Linked DNA regions of Homo sapiens: region 2 is linked to region 1. The links are contacts of gene promoters, found by promoter capture Hi-C in blood cells and fetal thymus (Javierre and others, 2016). All regions are on one chromosome and are shown on one strand. The core of a region is centred on a gene start or on the middle of the fragment in contact, and the rest is flanking DNA. Distances in the headings are between cores, read along the strand shown.

Region 1 (4,096 bases), core at 122-2,621:
CCAAGATGGTCTCATCTCCTGACCTCATGATCCGCCCACCTCGGCCTCCCAAAGTGCTGGGATTACAGGTGTGAGCCACCGCGCCTGGCCTAATGTGCAACCTTTGTGTAGAGGTTGCAACGTAAATGCAAATGTGAGCCTTTTCCATTCAATCTCAACATTTAGAGATCAGAAAAAATAATATATATAATACTGCTAAATGGCTCACATAATTCCATTACAAATCACTTCTTTCTTTCCACGTGTGTTTTTCTTTCCCCTTAGAAATAAAGAGGATGTAACAGGTTCTCTGGCACTGTGACCTTCCTTACAGCTTGCCTGTAAGTCCTTTATTTATTTATTTATTTATTTATTTATTTATTTATTTATTTTTGAGACGGAGTCTTGCTCTGTTGCCCAGGCTGGAGTGCAGTGGCCTGATCTCAGCTCACTGCAAGCTCCGCCTCCCGGGTTCATGCCATTCTCCTGCCTCAGCCTCCCAAGTAGCTGGGACTACAGGCACCTGCCACCATGCCCGGCTAAATTTTTGTACTTTTAGTAGAGATGGGGTTTCACCGTGTTAGCCAGGATGGTCTCGATCTCCTGACCTCGTGATCCGCCCGCCTCAGCCTCCCAAAGTGCTGGGATTACAGGCGTGAGCCACCGCCCCTGGCCTCTAGTCCTTTTTTAACAAGGTTATTTAAAAAGACTTTACTGGCCAGGCGCGATGGCTCACGCTTGTAGTCCCAACTACTCGGGAGGCTGAGGTGAGACGATTGCTTGAGCCCAGCAGTTTGAGGCTGCAGTGAGCTATGATTGTGCCACTGCACTCCAGCCTGAGCAACACAGCAAGACCCTGTCTCAAAATAACTAGCTAGCTAGCTAAGTAGCTAACTAACTTTACTGCTTCTTGAGATTCCTATCCCTGGACATTTAAAAATACATTATTTAAAAAAATGCATTTCCTATTTTTCTGGCTTAGAGAAAGATCATTTTCCTTCATATCTTTCTGGCTTTAAAAATATTACTCTGGGGTGGCTGCTGTGGCTCACACCTGTAATCCCAGCACTTTGGGAGGCCAAGGTGGGAGAATCACTTGAGTCCAGAAGTTGGAGACCAGTCTGGGCAACACAGTGAGACCGTCTCTATAAAAACAAACAATTACTCTGAATGGGAGAAGAGGCTGCTGAAGGCCACAGTGGGGAGCAGGGCGCAGACACCCCTGGCACAGTGCCGGCCAGTGGGCACCCCCAGCCTGACTCTATTTGCCAGAGGCTGAAGTCCAGAGGGGTTGAGGGGAGAGCACGGCAGGTCCTGGGGCCCCTCCCCCGCCTTGATCCTAGGGCGCCCCTGACCTTTGAGCCGGCTCGGGTTCCGGCTCTGGCGCGTGCACACTCGCCTCGCCGTTCGGGACCAGCCAGATCGCGGCGGCCTCGCGGGCGGTTTGGTCGGTGAGGTCTTGGCCGCGCGCGGCAATGCTGAGGCTGCTGGCGTCCGGGTGCGCCCGGGGCCCGGGGCCCGGCGTGGGCGCGCGTCCTGCCGCAGGGCTCTTTCATCCGGGGCGCCGCCAGAGCCGCCAGGCTTCCGACGCGCCCCGGAACCAGCCCCCCAGCCCCGAGTTCGTGGCCCGGCCGGTGGGCGTCTGCTCCATGATGCGCCTGCCGGTGCAGACCTCCCCCGAGGGGCTGGACGCTGCCTTCATCGGGGTGCCCCTGGATACTGGGACCTCCAACCGGCCTGGGGCGAGGTAAGGCCGGAAGGACGGGGGCCGGGTACACGTGGAGGGACTGCTTGCTGGCTGTCGGGCATGGAAAGCACCGAGACAGGCGCCCCTGCTGGCCCCGGGTCGAGTTGGAAGCTGGTGGCCGGCTCCAAAATGCCCCTTATGGTTTGAGATGGTTGATTTACCTGGACCCTCAATAAGCAAACCCCAGGGCTCAACATGGGCGTGGCCTCCCACATCTTAGTGTCATCATTGGTCAAGAAGGGATTTTGGCCGGCCCGGTGGCTCATGCCTGTAATCCCAGCACTTTGGGAGGCTGAGGCGGGCGGATCACGAGGTCAGGAGTTCGAGACCATCCTGACCAACATGGTGAAACTCTGTCTCTACAAAGGTACAAAAAAAAGAAAAAAAAAGCCGGGCATGGTGGCGCGGGCCTGTAATCCCAGCTACTCGGGAGGCTGAGGCAGGAGAATCGCTTGAACCCGGGAGACGGAGGTTGCAGTGAGCTGAGATTGCGCCACTGCGCTCCAGCCTGGGCAACAGAGTGAGACTCCGTCTCAAAAAAAGAAAAAAGAAGGGATTCTGGAGCCTGAACCTTCTCTGTGTCCCCATCCTGGGGCCTTGCTGGGATGGCTGCTGTGGATTCCTCCCCTCTCCTCTCCCCAGCTTACAGTGGCAGGTGACATTGCATTTGAGAGCAGAAACTGGCTGCCCCTTCCCCAAATCTGAAGATGTCACCTGACTCAAGAAATGCTCAAATGAAGGCAATTTTCCTAGGATCAAGTCGGAGGAAGCAAAATTCATCTTCCTAGTTATTGAACGTCAGCAATTTCTGATTCAGCTCAGCAACACTATATCTGACCGTACTGATCTGAATTATGAAAGCCAGCACTTATTAAATGTCTCCTAAGTGCAAGGTGCTTTGCATAGATTACCTCATTTAATTTTTACTACAGTGCAAGGTAAATATTTTACAAATTAGGAAACTGAGACTCAGGTAGATCATGAAATTCACTAATGCCATTTAGTACACTTATTTAGTCTCTTCGATACATAGCCTAGATCGGTGATTCTCAAGTGGGGCGGTTTTGCACTCCGGGGACATTTGGCAGTATCTGGAGGCGTTTTGGGTTGTTACACCTTGGAGGAAGGGTGCTACTGGCACCTAGTGAGTACAGGCCGGGATGCTGCTAAGCATTCCATTATGCAATGCCGCGACACGGAATCATCTGGCCCCAAATTGCTGAGGCTGAGAAGCCCTGGCCTAAGCAAAGCCTGAAATCTCTGCAGATGATGGCTGACAGGATGATTCTTCCTTCTGCAGATTCGGACCTCGCCGCATCCGGGAAGAATCAGTGATGCTTGGGACAGTCAATCCTAGCACGGGGGCCCTCCCCTTCCAGTCCCTCATGGTTGCAGACCTAGGCGATGTGAATGTCAATCTTTACAACCTTCAGGACAGCTGCCGGCGAATTCAAGAGGCCTATGAGAAAATTGTAGCAGCTGGCTGTATTCCTCTGACCTTGGGTAATGTCAGTCTGCAAGAGCCAGAGTAGTTCCCTGCACTCAGGGTTTACTTATCCTGTACTCAGGGGCTTGAGTACAGCTACTTCTCCCCTGCAAGCCACTGCAAATGTGCAGACAGTAGGAAAGAGAGCATTGTAATTCATTTATTTTAATCCCTGGGGAGAGAATATTTCACGTGTGTGTGTATGTGTGTGTGTGAGACAGTCTCACTCTGTTACCCAGACTGGAGTGCAGTGGTGCAATCTCGGCACATTGCAACCTCCACTTCCTGGGTTCAAGCAATTCTCCTGCCTCAGCCTCCCAAGTAGCTGGGATTACAGGCGCCCACCACCATGCCTGGCTAATTTTTGTATTTTTGGTAGAGTCGGGGTTTTGCCATGTTGGCCAGGCTGGTCTTGAACTCCTGACCTCAAGTGATCCGCCCACCTTGGCCTCCCAAAGTGCTGGGGTTACAGGCATGAGCCACCGCGCCTGGCCAAGATGATGTTTCTAATGACTTTATTTGCGAGGAGAACTGCAAAGAGGGTGTTTTTGTCCTGCTCAGGGTCTACATCAACCTATAGGGCAGCTTTCCCCTTATCCTCACCCCTGACCCACTCTCACTTTTTCTCTTGTTCACAAATACTTAAAATGACAGGGATCTTTTCCTAAATATCCAAATTCATTTTTGCCAAGTTAGAGAGCCTAGCCTGCATGGCATAGTGGGAGGAGTGTGGTTTCCCGATGGCATGGTTTGAAGTCTCAGCTGCACTTCTCCCTAGCAATGTTGCTGTATACCGTGCTTGATGCTTCACACCCTCACCTGTAAGATGGGAATGATCACAGTAACACCTACTCACTGCATGATGTGAGGGGCATATAATGAAA
Region 2 (4,167 bases), core at 945-3,444, 860 kb before region 1:
CGGGGTCTCACTCTGTCACCCGGGCTGAAGTGCAGTGGCGCAACTACGGCTCACTGAAGCCTCAACCTCCTGAGCTCAAGAGATCCTCCCACCTCAGCCTCCTGAGTAGCTGGGACTACAGGTGTGTACCAACACACCAGGCCAATTAAAAAAAATTATAGAGATAGGGTCTATGTTGCCCAGGCTGGTCCTGAAGTCTTGGGCTCAAGGGATCCTTCCACCGAGGCTTCCCAAAGTGTTGGGATTACAGGCGTGAGCCACCACAGCCAGCTGTTTTGACTCTTTTAAAGCATTAACTTCACATTTTAGTTCTAAGAAAAGGTCAGTTAAATCCCCAAATAGCAAGAACCGCAGGTGTTTCCAGGAGGCTTTTCTTAGAAGTCCCTATGCCAGTTCTCAAGAACCCTGGACGCGGCTGTCTTGAGGGCTGCACAAATGCAGATTCTCAATTCACAAATCAGCAGACTCAGTTCCTGTTCCTCTTACCAGGCCTGAGATTCAGGCTAAGGAGAGCTCCAAGACTTAAGTGCAGGCACTGGTAGTTTCCTCTAAGCTAAACCAGCCAGCCCTGACAATTCATAACCTCGCTCTCTGGGGCACCAAGAGGAACCAAATCCATCCTACTAAAGACCCAATAGGGGGCCGGGCGCGGTGGATCCTGCCTGTAATCCCAGCACTTTGGGAGGCCGAGGCGAGTGGACCACCTGAGGTAGGGAGTTCGAGACCAGCCTGACCAACATGGAGAAATCTCATCTCTACTAAAAACACAAAATTAGTCGGGTGTGGTGGTGTATGGCTGTAATCCCAGCTACTCGGGAGGCTGAGGCAGGAGAATCGCTTGAATCCGGGAGGCGGAGGTTGCAGTGAGCCGAGATCGCACCATTGCACTCTAGCCTGGACAACAAGAGGGAAACTCTGTCTCAAAAAAAAAAAAAAAAGACCCAACAGGAGATGGGGCTAGACGACCATCAATGGTTTGATGGTCCAACCACAGTTTGATGACAGAAAACAAATGTATTTTGGTTATTGTTGTTTTTGTTTTTATACTATTTTAAAATATGTCATGAATGTAATGTTCACTAACGCATCTTTTCACCATAAGATCAGCTATGAGCCCACGGTAACACAACTGGAAAGTAACAAGAGGAAATGTGGACGTTCCATCATTCTTGGGGTGCAGACCAATCCTGTATTTCCGAAAAACTTGGACAACCATCGCCTTCAAGAGCCACCCAGGCCCCCGCAAATACGAGCACTCCCCACCACCACTCAGTGGCACAAAATAGCCATAGGCCAGGTTGTCTGTATGAAGTGTATCTTTTTTCTTTTAATATTTTTCGTCGTTTTGATAGATAACGCATACAAAGAGTAGTAAAACGCAAACAGCACAAAAGGGAAAGGAAGTTTCCTTCCAAGGGCGGTTCCCCTCCCCTAGGGCAGTTTCCTGTGTTCCTTTGCAGAGATACTCAGTATGTTTACAAGCGTGTGTGTTTATTCGTCTCAGGTAGAGACCAGAGAAATATAGAAGGGGTCCTCCCAACTGCTCCAGGCTGTGATCAAGGGTGAAATTCGTGCGAAGGGATCTGGGTAGGAAGGGGTCCCTGGGCTTCGACCGTCACCTTAAAGCTCCCCGGGACCGGTCCTTTCAGCCGGCTCTGGGCTCCCTCCCCTCCTCTCGGGGATTTCCGTCTGTGATAGGGCACCTCCCCGCTTAAGGCTTTTCGAGGATCCCTTCAAGGCCACCGGTTAGCGCTGAAAGAGAAGCGTCTGTGACATCACCACCCCCGACCAAGTTTAGGGTACCCGGCAGCCCACCGGGGTCCCTAAGCGCTAGATACGGCTTTAACGCCCTCCCCGCCGCCAGGAGTCCCGTGCGTCGAACTGAGACGGGCGAAACTCTGGATCCACCTCCCTGCTCGGGCCTGGAACTGGAAGAAGCAGCAGCATTAGCTCCCCCTCGCCCCAAAACTGGCCAGGGCTGTCCTCGGTTCCCGCAGTGGGTGTGTCCGGGTGGCGGAGAAAGGGTTAAATTGGAGCTAGCCTGGTCTGGCGGTGGGTAGTCACCTGTAGCCACGGTTGGTAGCCCGCGGAGGGATGCGGTAGACGTGGACGTCAGGCTTGACACAGAGCACCGACTCGTACCCGCTCTCCTCCATCGCGACGCCTGGAGCCCACCGAACTTCCGGCGACTTCCACCGTTCCTCTGTCCGACGGACGGAAGCGGTGCGACTCTCTGACCAGGTTTCGGCTAGAGCGGCAGCTCGCGGGCCTCAGCACCGCCTCGTTTGTGCGCCCTCTGCTGGAAACCCGGCTCAAGACACGTGGCGGGCGACCTCCGGAGGCTTCTCCCTCCCTCCAGAGGCTTCTCCTTCCCTCCAGACACCCTCCGACGCAAAGAAAGCGCCCTGCGCCCGCCATGGACAGACCCCTCTGTAACCCGTGGTCTGGGTGTGGATCATCCCCATCGCTTCAGTTTCTTAGGCCTGGGGCCCAGTTGACCGAGAGGCAAAGCTGTAGCCCACCCTGCAGTATCTCTGTCCTCCAGCCTTTGCCTCGGCGCCTCCTCTGCCTGAATATCCTTCCCTCTCCTGACTGTAAGGCTCAGCTGGCACCTGACCCACCAGACTAAATAGATGCCATTACCCTACCACCCTCCATGCTTCCCCTAGGGGAACCCACTTATATGCTCAGGGCCCCGTGTGGCCAAACCTCAACAACGAGTTGTATTCAAAGAAGTAAAGTTTAGTAACACAAGTAATTTAAGAAGAATTCCAGGCCGGGCTTGGTAGCTCACGCCTGTAATCCCAGCACTTTGGGAGGCTGAGGCGGGCGGATCACCTGAGGTCAGGAGTTCGAGACCAGCCTGGCCAACATGGTGAAACCCCGTCTCTACTAAAAATACAAAAATTAGCCGGGCTTGGTGGCGTGTGTCTGTAGTCCTAGCTAGTTGGGAGACTGAGGCACTAGAATCGCTTGAACCCGGAATGCGGAAGTTGCAGTGAGCTGAAATTGTGCCACTGCACCTCAGCCTGGGTGACAGAGCGGGACTCTGTCTCAAAAAAAAAAAAAAAGAAGAAGAAGAATTCCAGTCTTAACTTCGATTTCTCCCAGAATATTCTGGGAGATACAATGTCTACCCTAGCCAAATTCTCAAAATCCCTCCTTCCCTACCATTCTCTCATTGAGTTGAGTGCCTGCAATGTGCCAGCCCCTATGTGGGGGTGAAGCTGATCCCAAACTTCTGATTCACTGAATACCCCAAACTTTCCCCACCCCTTCTTTCCTTTTCTCTCTCACTCTCCTTCTCCTTTTTACTTTTTTTTTTTTTTTTCTTCAGACAAAGTCTCACTCTGCCGCCCAGGCTGGAGTGCAGTGGTGCAATCTCGGCTCACTGCAACCTCCACCTCCCGGGTTCAAGCGATTCTCCTGCCTCAGCCTCCCGAGTAGCTGGGATTACAGGCACCCACCACCAAGCCTGGCTAGTTTTTGTATTTTTTTGGTAGAGACGGGGGTTTCATCTGGTTGGCCAAGCTGATCTTGAACTCCTGACCTCAAGTGATCCGCCCACTTCGGCCTCCCAAGTGCTGGGATTACAGGCGTGAGCCACCACGACTGGCCATTTCTACTCATTTTTTATAAGCTTTTTATTATAGGATTGATCTAACCACTTACATTTTTATTGTAAAATATACATAACATAAAATTTACCATTTTAAGTGTACAATGCTGTGAAATTAAGTACATTCACAATATTGTGCAACTATATCATGCTTTCCAGAACTTTTCATCATCCCAAACAGAAACTCCACACCCATTAGCAATAACTTCCCATTTCCTTCTGCTCCATCCCTTAGTAACCTCTGTTTTACTTTCTGTCTCTATGAATTTGCCTTTTCTAGATACCTCTTATAAGTGGAATCATACAATATTGGGCTTTTGTGTTTCTTATTTCACTTAGCATCAAGTTTTCAAGGTTCTTTCATGTAGCATGGATCAGAATTTCATTCCTTTTAATGGAGGGATAATATTCCATTGCATGTATATACCATATTTTGTTTATCCATTCATCTGTCAACAATTGGGATGTTATCACCTTTTGGTATTGGGAATCGGGCTACTATGAGCATTGGTGTTCAAACACTTGTTCTAGTCCTGTTTTCCATTTTC

Evidence for each region. The method cuts DNA at HindIII sites, captures the fragments that hold promoters and counts their contacts. A CHiCAGO score of 5 or more calls a contact.
Region 2: a contact is called between the fragment with the promoter of NECAP2 here and the fragment with the promoter of AGMAT in region 1, in 3 of 17 cell types (fetal thymus, non-activated CD4 T cells and activated CD4 T cells). The highest score is 6.7, in fetal thymus.

Annotation. Positions count from the first base shown.
Region 1 is chr1:15,582,326-15,586,421 of GRCh38, reverse strand. AGMAT (agmatinase (putative)) reads left to right here and starts at 1,371. Exons shown (of 7, transcript NM_024758.5): 1 at 1,371-1,726; 2 at 3,027-3,229. The coding sequence starts at 1,455. RefSeq lists a silencer at 1,389-1,718 and an enhancer at 1,829-1,878. The HindIII fragment of the contact is 7,120 bases long and covers 1-4,096 here.
Region 2 is chr1:16,438,751-16,442,917 of GRCh38, reverse strand. It overlaps NECAP2 (NECAP endocytosis associated 2), which reads right to left and starts at 2,194. Exons shown (of 8, transcript NM_018090.5): 1 at 2,065-2,194. The coding sequence starts at 2,156. The HindIII fragment of the contact is 8,327 bases long and covers 1-3,642 here.